Regions from separate parts of the Homo sapiens genome. Here all the other regions are linked to region 1. The links are contacts of gene promoters, found by promoter capture Hi-C in blood cells and fetal thymus (Javierre and others, 2016). All regions are on one chromosome and are shown on one strand. The core of a region is centred on a gene start or on the middle of the fragment in contact, and the rest is flanking DNA. Distances in the headings are between cores, read along the strand shown. Region 1 holds the start of ZNF454 (zinc finger protein 454). Region 2 holds the start of ZNF354B (zinc finger protein 354B). Region 3 holds the start of ZNF879 (zinc finger protein 879).

Region 1 (4,957 bases), core at 1,517-4,016:
TAACCTCCTTTCTCCGAGGAGACTGGTTCCTGATGAGAATCCTTGACAGAAGCGGGGGCTTCCTCAGTGAATACTCAGAACAATATAGTGTGTGAGTCCTGGCTAAAGTCAAAGGGTGTGTCAGGCTTCATATCAGAGGTTTCACTGCTTCTCTTCAGCTTGAATAGTTTTGTTTTTTAGTTGGCTGTGGAAGGGCACCTGTTAGGTACTCCTAACAGACTACAGCATCACCAGGACAAATGGGTCAGATAAATGAAGGTTTTATTACTGTTTTCAGTTCTGGAAGACTTGGGCCTTTGTATGTCAGTTCTTTGCCATCTGGGTGACAAGTAATAAGAGCACTTTTGAACCTTCCAACATCAACAGGAGAAGGACTCCTGGTTCCAAGGACATGGGACCTGAGCAAGGCACTTAACAGATGAGTGCCTCAGTTTTCTCATTTATTAATAGGGCAAACCTCAGTTTTTGGTTGCATTAGATAATGTAAAGTGCTTGTAAAAGTGCCCAACATGGCCAGGCGCAGTGGCTCATGCCTGTAATCCCAGCACTTTAGGGGGCCGATGCGGGCGGATCACCTGAAGTCAGGAGTTCAGCCTGACCAACCTGGGGAAACCCCATCTCTACTAAAAGTACAAAATTATCCAGGCGTGATGGCGCATGCATGTAGTCCCAGCTACAGGGGAGGCTGAGGCAGGAGAATTGCTTGAACCCGGGAGGCGGAGCTTGCGGTAAGCCGAGGTCATGCCATTGCACCCCAGCCCGGGCAACAAAAGTGAAACTGTGTCTCAAACAAAAAAACTCCCAACATGTAGTTAGTGCTCAATACATATTATCATTCTTAAATTCCTGAAAACAATAATATCCAAACTCCTGAGCATAGCACCCAAAACCCTTCAATATCTTAGAATCATTAGGCTCTCAAAGCAAATGCCTTGTGGAAAGGTTATATAATTGTGGGAGGCTACTTGTAATTGTGGACTGCTGTCATTGCCTCCTCATTGGTCTTCCTGTATCCCCTCTAGCCCCACCACTGTCTGCCTTCTTTGAAGCTGACCAGTGCGTCTATCAAAACGTGCCCAGCCATGTCACTCTTTCAAATCTAATCATTTCCAGGCACAGAAATAAATCCAAATTTCCTTCCTTCAAGGCCTGTAGTTACTCCTGCAACAGCATCTCGCAGTCTTCCTTGTTCAGTAGGCCCTCGCCAGTCATACTGACCTTGCCAAGCCTGGAGTTCACCAAGCACACTTCTCTCTGGTCAGCATTTCTGTTCCCTCCCTTTAGAAGGCACTTTACCCATACAGTCACATCGTTTCTTCCCTCACTGTATTCAAATCTCTGCTCAGGTGTTACCTCCTCAAAGAGAACTTCCAAAACTGCTGCTTGAAATAATTCCCCGCCCCATCACACCCTAACCCCTAACAGTAGTGTTATCACTACCAGATAAATACTTTCTACTTGTCTGACCCCTCCTCTAGTACAATTAAAACTCCATGAGTGCAGGGTTTTCACAGCTATTTCTCCAGCCCCTGGACTCGGGGTTCTTACTCTCTGGAGCCCAGTTTGAGTGACCTGGAGTCACGAGGGAGGCGAGAGAGAAGGGTTACCAGCGATACTCACACAACATCCTCCCCCTCTGGTGCTTTGCCGGGTCCCTGGGAACTGCTACAGGGGCTGCACAGCGGCTGACCCTGGCCTTGTCAAGCACTTGACACATAAGTGCTCCAAAGTGTCTATGGAATGAAATCTTCAATAAAACTCCAAACAGAATGCTGTAGTCACTGACACTGCTTCCTAAAACGTGGCCAACAATTCCGTATGTGACAAACAGGTCACATTCTTGATTTTTTTTAACGACCAACAAAGTTAAAACCCTCTCATCTTTCCTTCCTGAGCTCCATGCAAATTACCTATTCAAAAGCAACTAAGTATCTCCAGTTGGATATTCTTAGGCATCATCTCATCCTTGCCAGTCTCTGCAAAATATGGTCGACAAAAATAAATACCACCTTCTTAAATACCACCCAGCTGTCCAAGATGGAGACTTCCTGGCATCCAGGCGCCTTCCTCTCCCTCGTCCCCACCTCTGAGAAGTTCCCAAGCACGAAGTGTTCTGCGTCCCGAACATTCCAGGGGCCGCCAGCCACCATGGGCTCTGTCCTGAGGTGCCAAGCAGGACATCCCTGCCCGACATCCTTGTCCTCCCGCACCGCACACGCGTTAGTGGCTGTGGCGTCGCCACCCCAGCACACGCTGGCCCGCCCGCAGTGCCAGGCTGGAAGTGTCGGGCGCTTGCCAGGCCAAGGGGCAATTCTGTTGCCTTCCAGGCCTTTTCGGCGCGGTCCCAGTCAGGAACGCGCCCTGTCGCCTCCCACTCCGTCTTCCGGACCCTCCCGATCCTCTCTCGTCAGCGATCGGGCGTCGCTCCCCTGGACTAACCTCCCTTGCCCCATCTTCAGCTTTTCGCTGATCTGCATCTTCCTGCGCCTTAGTGCAAGGCAGAGACCTGGTTCTAAAGCGAACGGAACGGAACCGATTCTGTAAGTTGCAATGAGCGCGCTGAGGTCGGCGTGGAGGGGTCTCTGGGAAAGGTAGTTTCCGCGCCTAAAGCGCCGGGGCCGGGCCCTGTTCCCGCAGGCGCAAGGCAGCACTGTCTCCGCCGATTGTCCCTCTGGGAAGTGGAGTCTGGCCGGCGGAACTGCAGCAGCCCTGAGACTTGTGGGAATTCGGCCCAAGGGTTCCCAGGGCAACGCGCAAGCGCAGTTCGGCTCCCGGCTGCAGACTCCAGCTCATTGTGTTCTGACTGCGATGTGGCGCTTGCGATCTCTCGCCGCCGGCAGAGGCTCCTCGAAGAGCGACACGGGGCTGACCAGGCACGGTGGTCAAAGCCGCAGAGGGAGAGCGGGAGCGGTCGTGAGGTCGTCTGGGGAGAAGGGCGGAGGCAAAGCCGAGGAGGTGCGGGTTGTGGTCCATTCTGGAGGACGCTGATCGAATGCCCCAAACTTCCCGGAATGTATGTCTGAGATTTGATCCCAGAGAGGGAGGACGGCCAGGGGTGGTCATCCTGGGCTGAGGGTCGAGTCTGTGAGTGCCTGTGGAGGAGATGGAGCCAGGGCCTCTGGCATGTGTCTTGGAGCGGACTCCGAGAAGCCCAGGGTTTCCTCTCAGGTGATAGATACACGCCTGGCGTGGTTCCGAGTCCTGCGCCAGGAACTCGCCAAGGCCGGAGGCAGCCGCTGCGCAGCCCCTGCCACAGCCCCCGAGGGACCTGGCGAAGCGGCAGGGGCGGGACGGGGCTGTGTGTGATTAGGGTTCCTAACCCTTCCCTCTCCCCTCCCGCCCAGCTCACACAAACGCCGCTTCTGCCCACCCGTGACTCCAGGCCACCCAGACTGGGCCCCAGAGAGTGAGAACACTGAGGCCAGAGAAGGGTTTGCCTGAGAGGCTTCGACAGTGAAGAGCCTTCTTAGCCTCCTTTCTGAGGAGGAAGAAGACCACCCTCCTTTTCCTCTTCTCCTGTCACTGCCAGATAAGGCAGCTGTTCCAAAGCCGCAGAGGGAGAGCGGAGCGGTCTTCCAATCCAGTCGAACCCAGACACTGCCCTCCGTTGCCTCTCCCCAGCGCTCCCACCTTTTCGGGTACATCCTGGTGGGTTCTGGAGCTGAATAACTTGTTAAAGAGATAATTCTCGGCCGAGTGCGGCGGCTCACGCCTGTAATCCCAGTACTTTGGGAGGCCGAGGCGAGCCGATCACCTGAGGTCCGGAGTTCGAGACCAGTCCGACCAACATGGTGAAATCCCGGTCTCTACTAAAAATATAAAAAATTAGCCGGGCGTGGTGGCGGGTGCGTGTAATCCCAGCTACTCCGGAGACTGGGGCGGGAGAATCGCTTGAACCCGGAAGGCGGAGGTTGCAGTGAGCCAAGATCGTGCCACTGCACTCCAGCCTAGGTGACAGAGCGAGACTCTGTCTCAAACAAACAAACAAAAAAAGAATTCTCTTGAGATCGCTCAGTGAGGCTGAAGGGAAAGACCAGAGGGTGGGTGGAAGGCATGAGAACTGGACCTGGAGCAGGCTTTCTGCAGGGAAAAGTCAATGTATAGTACCCTCAGAAGGAGGAGAGAGAATGGGGAGCAAACAGGAACCAAAACACTCACTGCTTGGGGTACTGGAGGCCTCCCAGGATGTGAATGCTCACTGCCTCGCTCTGGACTGCTGTATGAGAGCTTTTGACCCAGTTCTCTCCTAATAGCAGGTGTGTGGACCCTTCTAGCCTGAGGAGTCCTGCAGGTGTGAAGCTCCACACCTGCCTCCATAGCACTTTGCCTGTCCCTAAGAGGGCTCATCGGAGAAGAAAGAATGGCTGTCAGCCACCTGCCAACCATGGTCCAGGTGAGTGGGGGTTTCTTCCCCCTAAATTGCTTTCTGGATTTGAAGAGTGTGGCATGTTTGCTTCCTCAGACCGGGAGCTTTATTCCCAATCCAGTCCCACCCAGACACTGACCTCAGTTGCCTCTCCCCAACCAACACCCTCCAACCCCGCCCCATATCCGGCTCATCCTGGTGGGTGTTGCAGCTGTATAACTTGCTAAAGGTCACATAAATGTCACAGCTGGGACTGGAACCCAGGTCCCTGTGAAATCAAAACCTGTACTCTTTTCACTAGCAAGTAAGATTAGGGATCTGAAGTGGTAAAAGCATGTATTAGTCCCTTTTTACATTGCTCTAAATAAATATCTGAGGCTGGGGAATTGATAAGAAGTTTAATTGGCCCACGGTTCTGTAGGCTGTACAGGAAGCATGGTGTCAGCATCCACTTCTGATGAGGACTTTAAAAGCTTCCAATCATGGCAGAAGGTGAAGGGGGAGCAGGTGTATCACACGGTGAGAAAGGGAGCAAGAGAGAGAAGTGGGAGGTCCTAGACTCTTAAACAACTGGATCTCACGTGAACCAAC
Region 2 (4,957 bases), core at 956-3,455, 81 kb before region 1:
GGGTTTCACCATGTTGGCCAGGCTGGTCTCAAACCCCTGGCCTCAAGTGATGCACTTGCCTCAGCTTCTCAAAGTGCTGGGATTACAGGTGTGAGCCACCACACCCGACTGGAGGAAGGATTTTTATGGAAGACAGCAACACATTCGGCTTTGTGCTGAGAAGCAGAGTGTAGAAGAAAAACAGTAGATACTGGAAAAGGAGTCAAAAGCCATATGGTTTAGGGCCCACAACAAGGATTCTGGCTTTCACTCTAATTGCAAAGAGAAGACAATAAAACATCTCATTTTTGTTAAAAAATCTTTTTTACACCAGGCATAGTGGCTCACGCCTGTAATCCCAGCACTTTGGGAGGCCGAGGCGGGAGGATCACTTGAGCCTAGGCGTTTGAGACCAGCCTGGGCAACATAGTGAGACCCCGTCTCTCAAAAACAAAAACAAACAACAACAACAACAACAAAAAAAAACAGAAGCAGCAGCTTGTGGAAGTGTAGAGTAGTGTAGAGAGAGATAACAGGGCCTTGCACTGGGCAAGCAACCATGGAAGGACACCTGCAGTTCATGGCAACAGGGTGGGCGTGGCTCTACAAGTAAGGGACAGTTGTGCCATATGGAATTACCTATATGGGAAGATTGGTAATTAACACACAGGGAAATCACCATGCTACTTTCTTCTATGATTTTGACTATTTTAGATTCTACGTGTAAATGAAATAATGCAGTATTTGTATTTCTGTGCCTTCTTTATTTCACTTAACATAATGTCCTCCGGGTTCATCCATATTGTCACATATGTCAGGATTTCTTTATTTTTTTAAGGCAGAATAATATTCCTTTGTGTATATAAACACATTGTGGCCGGGCTCGGTGGCTCACGCCTGTAATCCGAGCACTTTGGGAGGCCGAGGAGGGTGGATCACGAGGTCAGAAGTTCAAGACCAGCCTGGTGAAGATGGTGAAACCCCATCTCTATTAAAACTACAAAAATTAGCTGGGCGTGGTCGCGGGTGCCTGTAATCCCTGCTACTTGGGAGACTGAGGCAGAGAACTGCTTGAACCTGGAAGGCGGAGGTGGCAGTGAGCCAAGATTGCGCCATTGCACTCCAGCCTGGGTGACAGAGCAAGACACCGTCCCAAACAAACAAACAAACAAAACATTTCCTTTATCTATTCATCCATCAACAGATAGTTGTTTCCATATCTTGGCCATGGTGAATAATGTTGCAGCTAACATGGGAGTGCAGGTATCTCACGGAGTTTCACTTCCTCTGGATCTATAGCCAGAAATGGGATTGGTGGATCCTAATGTAGCTCTAGTTATAATTTTTTGAGGAACCTCTATACCGTTTTCTGTAATGATTGTACCAATTTACATCCTTTTGATAGTGGCCATCCTAATGGAGGTGCAGTGATTTCTCATTGAGTTTGGGTTTATATTTCTCTTATACCTAGAGATGTTTACCATCTTTTTATATGCTTGTTGCTCATTGCTCATTTGTATATCTTCATTGGAGAATTGCCTATTCAAGTCCTTTGTCCATTTTAAAATCAGGTTATTTGGTTTTGTTATTGTTGTTGAGTTGTAAAAGTTCCATATAAATCCAGGATACATTGCAAATCAGATATATGATATGTAAGCATTTTCGTCTATTCTGTAGATTGCCTTTGTTTCCTTTGATTAGCCAAAGTTTTTAAGTTTGATGTAGTCCCATTTGTCTATTTTTGCTGTTATCTGTGCTTCTGATGTCATATTCAAGAAATCATTGCCATCTCCAACATCCTGAAGTTTTTTCCCTTTTTACTTTAGTAATTTATAAAATAATTTGGTCTCACATTTAGGTTTTTAATCAATTTTGAGTTAATTTTTATGTATGGTGTACGGTCAGGGTACAGGCTCATCTTTTGCACGTGGAAATCCAGCTTTGTCAACATCTTTTGCAGGGGATTTTCCTTTCCCAATTGTGTAGTAGTTGTTTTCGTGCCGCCCACGCCATCCTGAAATTCACACACAGAGTTGCAAGTTACTGCCCTCCGGGAACCTCCCCTTCTCTTCCGAAGAACCAGGAACCCGGGGCTCTACAGCTCACCCGGGCCCTCTCATAGGTCTGGGCGCCTAACAGCTCAGCTGCGACCTCGCCTCAAACGCGTGGAACTACACTTCCCAGAAAGCCAGCGTCCTCCCGTGGACTCCATTTCCTAGAGGCCTTAGCGGCCGCCTTGCTCCTCTAGGTCCCAGGCGCTCTGCGGAGCTTTCGCTGCCCGGTGAGCGGCGCCGGGCTTGAGGTCGCCCAGACGTCGGAGGAGCCGGGTCACGAGGCTGGAGCTTCCTGCTTGCAGAGTGCGGCGGGGAGGCGCGGCCCGGGAACGCGGGATCCTGGGGAGGTGAGCGGCATGGCTGGCTGTGCCGGGAGGAGGCGGCGCCTGGCGCCAGGGCGACCTGAGGCCGCGGGGCTCCGAGGGCCTCTGTGGGCGCGGGGGGGCACCCCCGCGTCTGTCACCGGCCCCCGCGCCAGGACTTGGACTCTCGCCCCTCACGGGCCGCTCCGGTGCCGCTGCCGACGCCCCTGCCTCTGGCTCGCGCCGCCCGCCGTGAACGCGGGGCCAGGCGTTTCCTCCCGGGCCCACCCTGCGCGCGCCGTGTGGGCCTCGCGGACTCGGGGCGCCGGGACCCCGAGCGCAGGGCAGAGGCAGCCGGGCCCGGTTTCTGAGTCAGTCCCCAGGACGGCCACTCCTCCTGCCTCGGGACACCCAGCGCTTTCCTCTTCAAAGCCGTTTTCCGTGGAGTCGGGAGACGATTCGTTGGCGGGAGAGAGAGGAACCGGCTGGGAAAGGCTTGAGGCGGAGGGAAGTCGTCCCGGGGCCGTCGTGGTGGGAGTCCCGGCCCGCCTCGCAGCGGCGTGAACGGGGCAGGTGCCCCGGCGCTGCCTCAGTTTCCTGAGCGGTGCAGTGGGTGCTGGCAGTGCCAGCTGGCGCCGAGGAACTCAGCGGCGTGGGGCGAGCCCTGGCCCTGGTGGGCTCAGCGGGTCGCTGCTGCCACTGCGGGTCCAGCGTCCCCTCCGTAAGCCCCAAGCCTGTGGGGCCTGGGCCTGGCCGGGCGGCCCAGCGCTGCTCTGGTCCGCGGGCTCCTGGCTCCTCCCGAATCCCTGTGAGGGCGCGCGGGGTCCTTCTCAGCGGGAGTCGGGGTTTTAGAGCTGCGGATTCCAGGGCTGGAAAGCAGAAGGGGTTCTTCCTGGCTCCCTTTTTCTTCTCAGATCTGCCTTCTGGAGACTGCGCCGTCCTCCCGGGAGAGCCAGAAAGAGGACATGGCTGCTGGGCAGCGGGAAGCGAGGCCCCAGGTGAGCTCATTGCCCTCCCAGATCCCAGTGGATGGATTTTCCCCACTAACTGGAGTTCTTCACCCGGGACCATCTCCAGCCAGGATGGAGCCCAAGTCCTTTTCTCTTGGAGGAGCTGGTCCGCCCTCATGACTGGTGGATTCTGTAGGGAGGACCACCCACCCTCCCCACCCGTGTCTAGTGGTTTTTAATTAACAGTTTGTTCACGAATCTTCATCCATTGTGTGACTAGTTTGACAAGTAAGATACCACAAGTCTGTCTGTCACTAAGAGCAAACGTACACACGTGGGAAAAATCCCTGCCTCCTCCACTCACCCATGTCTCCGTTCCTGTCCTTCGCAGGAATACTTTCTCTTTTCACCCCTGAGAATCCTCATAACACCACCCCTTCCCCAGGCTTCTCCAACGCATCGTTGTTAGTTTTTTGTCCCTCTTAACTTTGTGAATCATATTCTTTGCTTGTATCACTGTCTTGAAATCTATTGTAGACCGTTTTCATTTTTGTGTAGTGGGAATGAGGAGGCCACCCTTTCTAGTTGAGACGAGAGTGAACAGAGTTGGAGAGGTCGCTTGACTCGCAGGACACAGAAGACCCCTCAGCTAGCGGCAGGAAGGGTTTCATGGGATAGCAATAGTGCAGAGGCAGCGTAGGTGGTAGTTAGGAAGTAGGGCTGTTAAGCCAGATGGCAGCGTTTTAACCCATCTCCTCTGTTGCTGTTTGTGGGCCTTGGGCTTCACCTCTCTGTGCCTCAGTTTTCTCACCTGTAAAATGGGAATAACAGCCGTGCCCACCTCCCAGCGTAGATGAAGGGATCACATGAGTTAGTGTGTGGAAAGTGTTCGGATCAGGGCTGGGCACTGAGTAGTTACTGCTCAGCATATGGTGGTTGTGTTTGCTGAGTGACATTATTGTCTTAATATATTAATGTTAATGTTGGTAGATAGAAACTGCTGTACAATGTGTTTAGGACCCAGACGATGTTATCCTTTATTCATTTTTTTATCTAACAATACTAATGTCCACCGAGTGTCTAGCATACCAGGGAATGGGCTGAGGGCTTTACATTTGTTCTCTCACTCGCACAGTAGCACAACAATTACAATTCTTGTTTTACATGTGAGGAAACTGAGGCTCAGAAAAGTTAAGTAACCTGAGTACAGTCCAAGTATGCCTGGCTCTGAGTTCCGTCGGACCACCCAGTCGTCCCTGTGGTGCGTCTTTCAGAGTATGGGCAGATGCAGCCACGCGATACCAGAGTGCTTCTGCAGCGTGGCATTATCTTTTTTTTTTTTTTTTTTTTTTGAGAGGCAGTCTTGCTCTGTCACCCAGGCTGGAGTGCAGTGGCGCGATCTCGGCTCACTGCAACCTCCGCCTCCCTGGTTCAAGCAATTCCCCTGCCTCAGCCTCCTGAGTAGCTAGGACTACAGGCATGTGCCACCACGCCCGGCTAATTTTTTTTTGTATTTTAGTAGAGACGGGGTTTCACCATGTTGGCCAGGATGGCCTCAATCTCCTGACCTCGTGATCCACCAGCCACAGCCTCCCGGAGTGCTGGGATTAAAGGTGTGAGCCGCCGCGCCTGGCGGCGTTATCTTTTAAACTAGCCAAGACAGTGGAGTGGG
Region 3 (4,957 bases), core at 1,534-4,033, 83 kb after region 1:
TGTGGTTTTTTTTTTTTTGGAGGGGGGTGGGGAGACATGGAGTTTCACTACGTTGCCCAGACTGGTCTCGCGCTCCCGAGCTCAAGCCATCTGCCCACTTTGGCCTCTGAAAGTGTTGGGACTACAGGTGTGAGCCACTGCGCCCGGCGGGATTCTTCTTTTTTTAAATGAGTTACATTCATTACTAATTCTAGCAGAGATACTCTATGAATTGGAATCTATGTAAATACATTCATCCTCCAAATGCCTTTGCTTCACTCACAATCCAATGCAAGATTGGAAGGTTATAGTATTCTACAGAATCTATAGTACTCTATTTAAATTCCAAATCATTTTCTGTTTGAAATCTGAGGACATTGCTCCACACCATCTTCTAGAACCCGTGTTGCTGAGAAGCCTGATGTCAGCTGCACTTTCTTTGGTTCGTCTAGAGTAGTGGACTTTCTTGGTTACCTAATATCCTCTCGCCTTCCTAATTCTCAACAGAACCTAGATTTTGTTTACATATCCACATCACATCCAGCTCCTGAGGATCAGGGTGGAGAAAAGGAAGAAACGTGTTTGTTTGTTTTTTTCTGAGAGTGTCGCTCTGTCCCCCAGGCTGGAGTGCAGTGGCGCGATCTCAGCTCACTGCAACCTCCGCCTCCCGGGTTCAAGCAACTGCCCTGCCTCAGCCTCCCAAATAGCTGGGATTACAGGCTTGAGCCACCACCCCCGGCCAAAACCTGGTTTTTGCTGACATCATAGAACCACCGATTCTTCTCTAGCCGGAGTCTGCCCCAGTGATTTCTTGCTATTCCTTATTCATTTCAGCCAACTTGAGCAGTTCCATCTTCTGTGACTTGTAGCAAATAACACATGCCAACCTTTTATTCCGTCTTTTCTGGCCACTTTTAGGGGTTCCTATTTATCCTCAGAGTTGTGATATTTCATCGAGGATGTATTTTTTATGGGCCATCCCTACCCTAGCTCATTCATTATGCCAAACTCCCTACATTTTATTTACTCTGAAGACTCAGGGCTTCCTCAGCTTGAATGTGTTTTCTGCTATATCTCTATCACTATTTCTGTATGTAATCAATCTGTTATTATTCCCCCTCCCCATTTTCTCTGCTTTCTTCTGAATCTTTTTATTAGATTTTGGGTATCAGAGCACTTGTCTCCTGCATGTCTTCCAAATGTTTCCTCAATTTCTGGTGTTCTGATGGTATTTTTCTAGAGTTGCATTAGATTTGCTCCTTTGAAAATTATATGTGTTTGGGGTTACTTTGAAGAATATGAAGAGAAAAAGGGAGGTAATCATGGGTACTCAGTCTGGCACCTTTTACTTTGTAAATCTCAATGCTATGTTGTTTTGTCAATAATGGTCTATAACTGTCATATCTTTATTATTATTATTTTAAAATAATAATTAAATATAGAAATAACATATGGTCCAGAAATGGAATTGCCCATGTGTTAATTCTACATTTAATTTTTTTTTGAGGAACTGCCATACCGTTTTCCAGCGCAGCGCTACCATTTTACATTCCCACCATTAAGGCACAAGGATTGTTTTCTGGTTTTCTTTTTTTTCCAAATTTTATAATAGCCAACCTAATGAGTGTGAAATCGCAGTGGATGTTTGATCTGCTTTGATCTGCATTCCCCTAATGATTAGTGATGTGCATTATTATCTTTTAACAATATAAAACATCCATTTTGTTCGATTTAATTATTTTTACATTGCAATAATCTTTGTATTGTTGTAACATCGTGATCCAAGATTTCTTTTTCATATTATCTACCTGATATCTCTTAGTCCCTCTCTGCATTTTCTATCTTCAAGTACCCTTTGTGTTTAGGTTTGTCTCTGTAAACGCTAATGTTTGATATTTTAAAAATCAACACTTTCTGAGCACATAGTATTTGGCGTGTACAGTGCCGGTCACCGAGGATGCAGTTGTGATGATAGCGCTGGGAGTTGGGCTTTATTTTACGTTTTAAAGAAGTCACTTCAAAAGAAGTGAGTGCCATGAAGAGGGAAATACTAGGCTTATGCTTTTGTTTTACTCTGAGTGCCAGTAAATATGTAAAGATTACAAAAATTTATTTATTTATTTATTTATTTATTTGAGACAGAGTCTTGCTCTGTCACCCAGGCTGGAGTGCAATGGCGCGATCTGAGCTCACCGCAACCTTCGCCTCCCAGGTTCAAGCGATTCTCCTGCCTCAGCCTCCCGAATAGCTGGGATTACAGGCATGTGCCACCACGCCCGACTAATTTTTCGTGTTTTCGTAGAGACAGGGTTGCACCATGTTGGCCAAGATGGTCTCGGTCTCCTGACCTTGTGATCCGCCCACCTCGGCCTCCCAAAGTGCTGCGATTACAGGCATAAGCCACCGCGCCCGGCCGAGATTATAAAATTTAGACATAATTCATTTTTAATTAAAATCGCAGAATGGACTGTAATAGTTCTGTCACCACCTGCGAATAATCAGCAGCGGCTAGTCTTCCAGATTTAAAAATTCATACTCACTTTTCCGTCTTACTATTTTTGTCATTCTAATTACGAATACAATGGGTGGTTTAGCGGAGGGAGAGTAGTTGGAGCCCAAGCTGAGGGACTCGGCTTCAGCCTTCTCGAACTCCACAGCCCGACCGCGTTCTCCGCTCTCGGCGCTGTGGTTCTCTCTCGGACACCGTAAGTGGTGGTGCCGCAGCGACGTCTGGGAAATGAAGTCCGGAGGGACAAACGCTGCGGTTCAGCCAGGGAAACCCGTCGGCTCTCCGGCGCGCAGGCGCAGTTGCGCCCGGCAGCGACGGGAAACGTCTCTGAATTAGGTGTTCCGCTCGCCTCTTGTGCGGTGTGGAGCTGCGCGCCCCCCGCCGAGGCGGGCCCAGGTACAGGCTGCCGGTGAGGGCGGGCCCGGGGCGTGCGGCTGCCGCGGCGGGACCAGGACGAGGGCTGGCCTCTGCGCGTGTCTGCCGAGTCCCCGGCTCCGGGCGTCCGAGCCGGGGCGGCCTCGGCAGGTGAACCCGGCCCCGGAGGGGGCGTGGCCTGGGAAGGGCCTGGCGGAGGCCGGGAGGGCGCTTCGACGCCGCTGGACTCCTGGGCCGCAGCCTGGGCCGGACTCCGGGGGAAACGGCTCCAGAACAGAAACTGCAAAATGCCGCCTCGGTTCAGGGTCCGGAGCCCTCCGGGCGGTTTTTCGCTCTTAGTGTTTGTGGGTTTAAGCCTCCCCCTACTCCGTTTCCCGGAGTTTAAACTTTAGATTTACTCGTTTTTGGCAGTCTTGCACGTTTGGCAGTGTTTTCCTACAGCCAGTCCTAGAGTGATTTAACTATTTCTTTTTTTATTTACCGTAACCATGTCCACTTGCTACGTTTCTTCCCATTTCTCTAAATTTTAAATCAATTTCTAGCTAGTGATGCTGTTTTCTTGCGCCCTTGTTTTTTTGGGGCCAGGGAGAATGGGTAACGCTACCTTTAAGCAGCTTTGATAACTGTTTTTGATAAAGGAAGTAAATCTTACAAGAGGAAGAAAAGAGGACTAATTTTTGGTTGGCTGTTCCTAAAAAAGAGCATCAGTTCTTCAACTGCTGTTTTTCGTATTGAACAACATCCAAGTGCAGATGTGTGGAATATTGTGTCATTTCCTATTACTTTATCTGAATGAGCCTTGCCTGATTCTGCCCTTGACCCTGTTAAGGCACGGCAGATGGTCTTCATCCCTTCGCTCCTTTCGTCTTTATCGTAAAGCACTGGCAGAAAGGTAGCAGGCCCGGTGACTCTGAACCTGCTTCCCACACTGGTTTAAGTGGCCGGACTTAGGGCCCCTCTGGCCTGGGCAGTTCCAGGCTCCTTCTCTGCAGGTGCTCAGCTTATGGCTTCTAACCTGGTCTGGCCTAATGAGGGTGGGCATGCAGGCTGGATGAAAAGACCTCACAGCTTTTTTCTCCATTCCAGGTGCCTTCTCCAAGAGAGGCAGCAGGGAGGGAGAAATGGCAAGGAGGTTGCTGCCAGCCCATGTACAGGTGAGTGAAGGCTTCTTTTTGCTTGAACTGCCTTCAGGGTCTAGACGTGGTAAACTTCTTCATCTGTTGTTGAGCTTCTCTACCCAGTGAAGCTCAGGGAAGGACCAGAGGGCTTGGTAGCTGAGAAACTCTGGAAGGAAGGTGTTTCCCTTGCCTCAGAGCCTGTCTCATGCTTTTTTTTTTTTTTCTTTCCCTTTTTTGAGACAGGGTCTCACTCTGTTACCCAGGCTGGAGTGCAGTGGCACGGACATGGCTCACTGCAGCCTCAACCTCCCTGGTAGCTGGGACTACAGGCATGTGTGCCACCACACCCAGCTAATTTTTGTATTTTTAGTAGAGACCAGGCTTCAACAAGTTGGCAAGGCTGGTCTTGAACTCCTGACCTCAAGCAATCTGCCCGCCTCAGCCTCCTAAAGTGTTGGGACTATGGGCGTGAGCCACCGCGCCCGGCCCCCAGTCTCATGCTTTTTGACAAAGAATTTAATGGGGCTCCAATGCCAGGCCACTGCCACTACCAGAGCTTTGTGAAAGATCCAGGTGTTTTTGCCCTGTGGAGGACAAAGACACGGAGGAGTTAAATAATTCCTTCCTAACACGGGGAATTTGAAAAAGAGAGGCCCTGTATTCCCAGGACCTTGGGAGGCCAAGGTGGGCAGATCACTTGAGGTCAGAAGTTCAAGACCAGCCTGACCAACATGGTGAAACCCGGTCTCTACTAAAAATACAGAAGTTAGCTAGGGATGGTGGTGCATGCCTATAGTCCCAACTGCTCTGGAGGCTGAGGCAGGAGAATCACTTGAACCCGGGAGGCAGGGGTTGAAGCGAGCGGAGATCATGCCACTGCACTCCAGCCTGCGTGACACAGCGAGACTCCGTCTCAAAAAAAAAAAAAGCCAGGTGTGGTGGGTCTGGTGGTGCGCTCCTGTAATCCCAGTTAGTC

What was found. The method cuts DNA at HindIII sites, captures the fragments that hold promoters and counts their contacts. A CHiCAGO score of 5 or more calls a contact.
Region 2: the fragment with the promoter of ZNF354B here is called in contact with the fragment with the promoter of ZNF454 in region 1 in 2 of 17 cell types (neutrophils and erythroblasts); the score reaches 6.2 in neutrophils.
Region 3: the fragment with the promoter of ZNF879 here is called in contact with the fragment with the promoter of ZNF454 in region 1 in 5 of 17 cell types (erythroblasts, neutrophils, monocytes and 2 more); the score reaches 9.1 in erythroblasts.

What each region holds. Positions count from the first base shown.
Region 1 is chr5:178,938,432-178,943,388 of GRCh38, forward strand. ZNF454 (zinc finger protein 454) reads left to right here and starts at 2,767. Exons shown (of 5, transcript NM_001178089.3): 1 at 2,767-3,013; 2 at 4,254-4,393. The coding sequence starts at 4,361. It overlaps ZNF454-DT (ZNF454 divergent transcript), which reads right to left and starts at 2,584. Exons shown (of 1, transcript NR_186409.1): 1 at 245-2,584. The HindIII fragment of the contact is 10,957 bases long and covers 1-4,837 here.
Region 2 is chr5:178,857,748-178,862,704 of GRCh38, forward strand. It overlaps ZNF354B (zinc finger protein 354B), which reads left to right and starts at 2,206. Exons shown (of 5, transcript NM_058230.3): 1 at 2,206-2,380; 2 at 3,250-3,333. The coding sequence starts at 3,301. RefSeq lists enhancers at 2,056-2,788, 2,073-2,272 and silencers at 2,413-2,612, 2,693-2,772. The HindIII fragment of the contact is 7,869 bases long and covers 1-4,957 here.
Region 3 is chr5:179,021,021-179,025,977 of GRCh38, forward strand. It overlaps ZNF879 (zinc finger protein 879), which reads left to right and starts at 2,784. Exons shown (of 5, transcript NM_001136116.3): 1 at 2,784-2,884; 2 at 3,950-4,017. The coding sequence starts at 3,985. RefSeq lists an enhancer at 2,412-2,913. The HindIII fragment of the contact is 13,349 bases long and covers 1-4,957 here.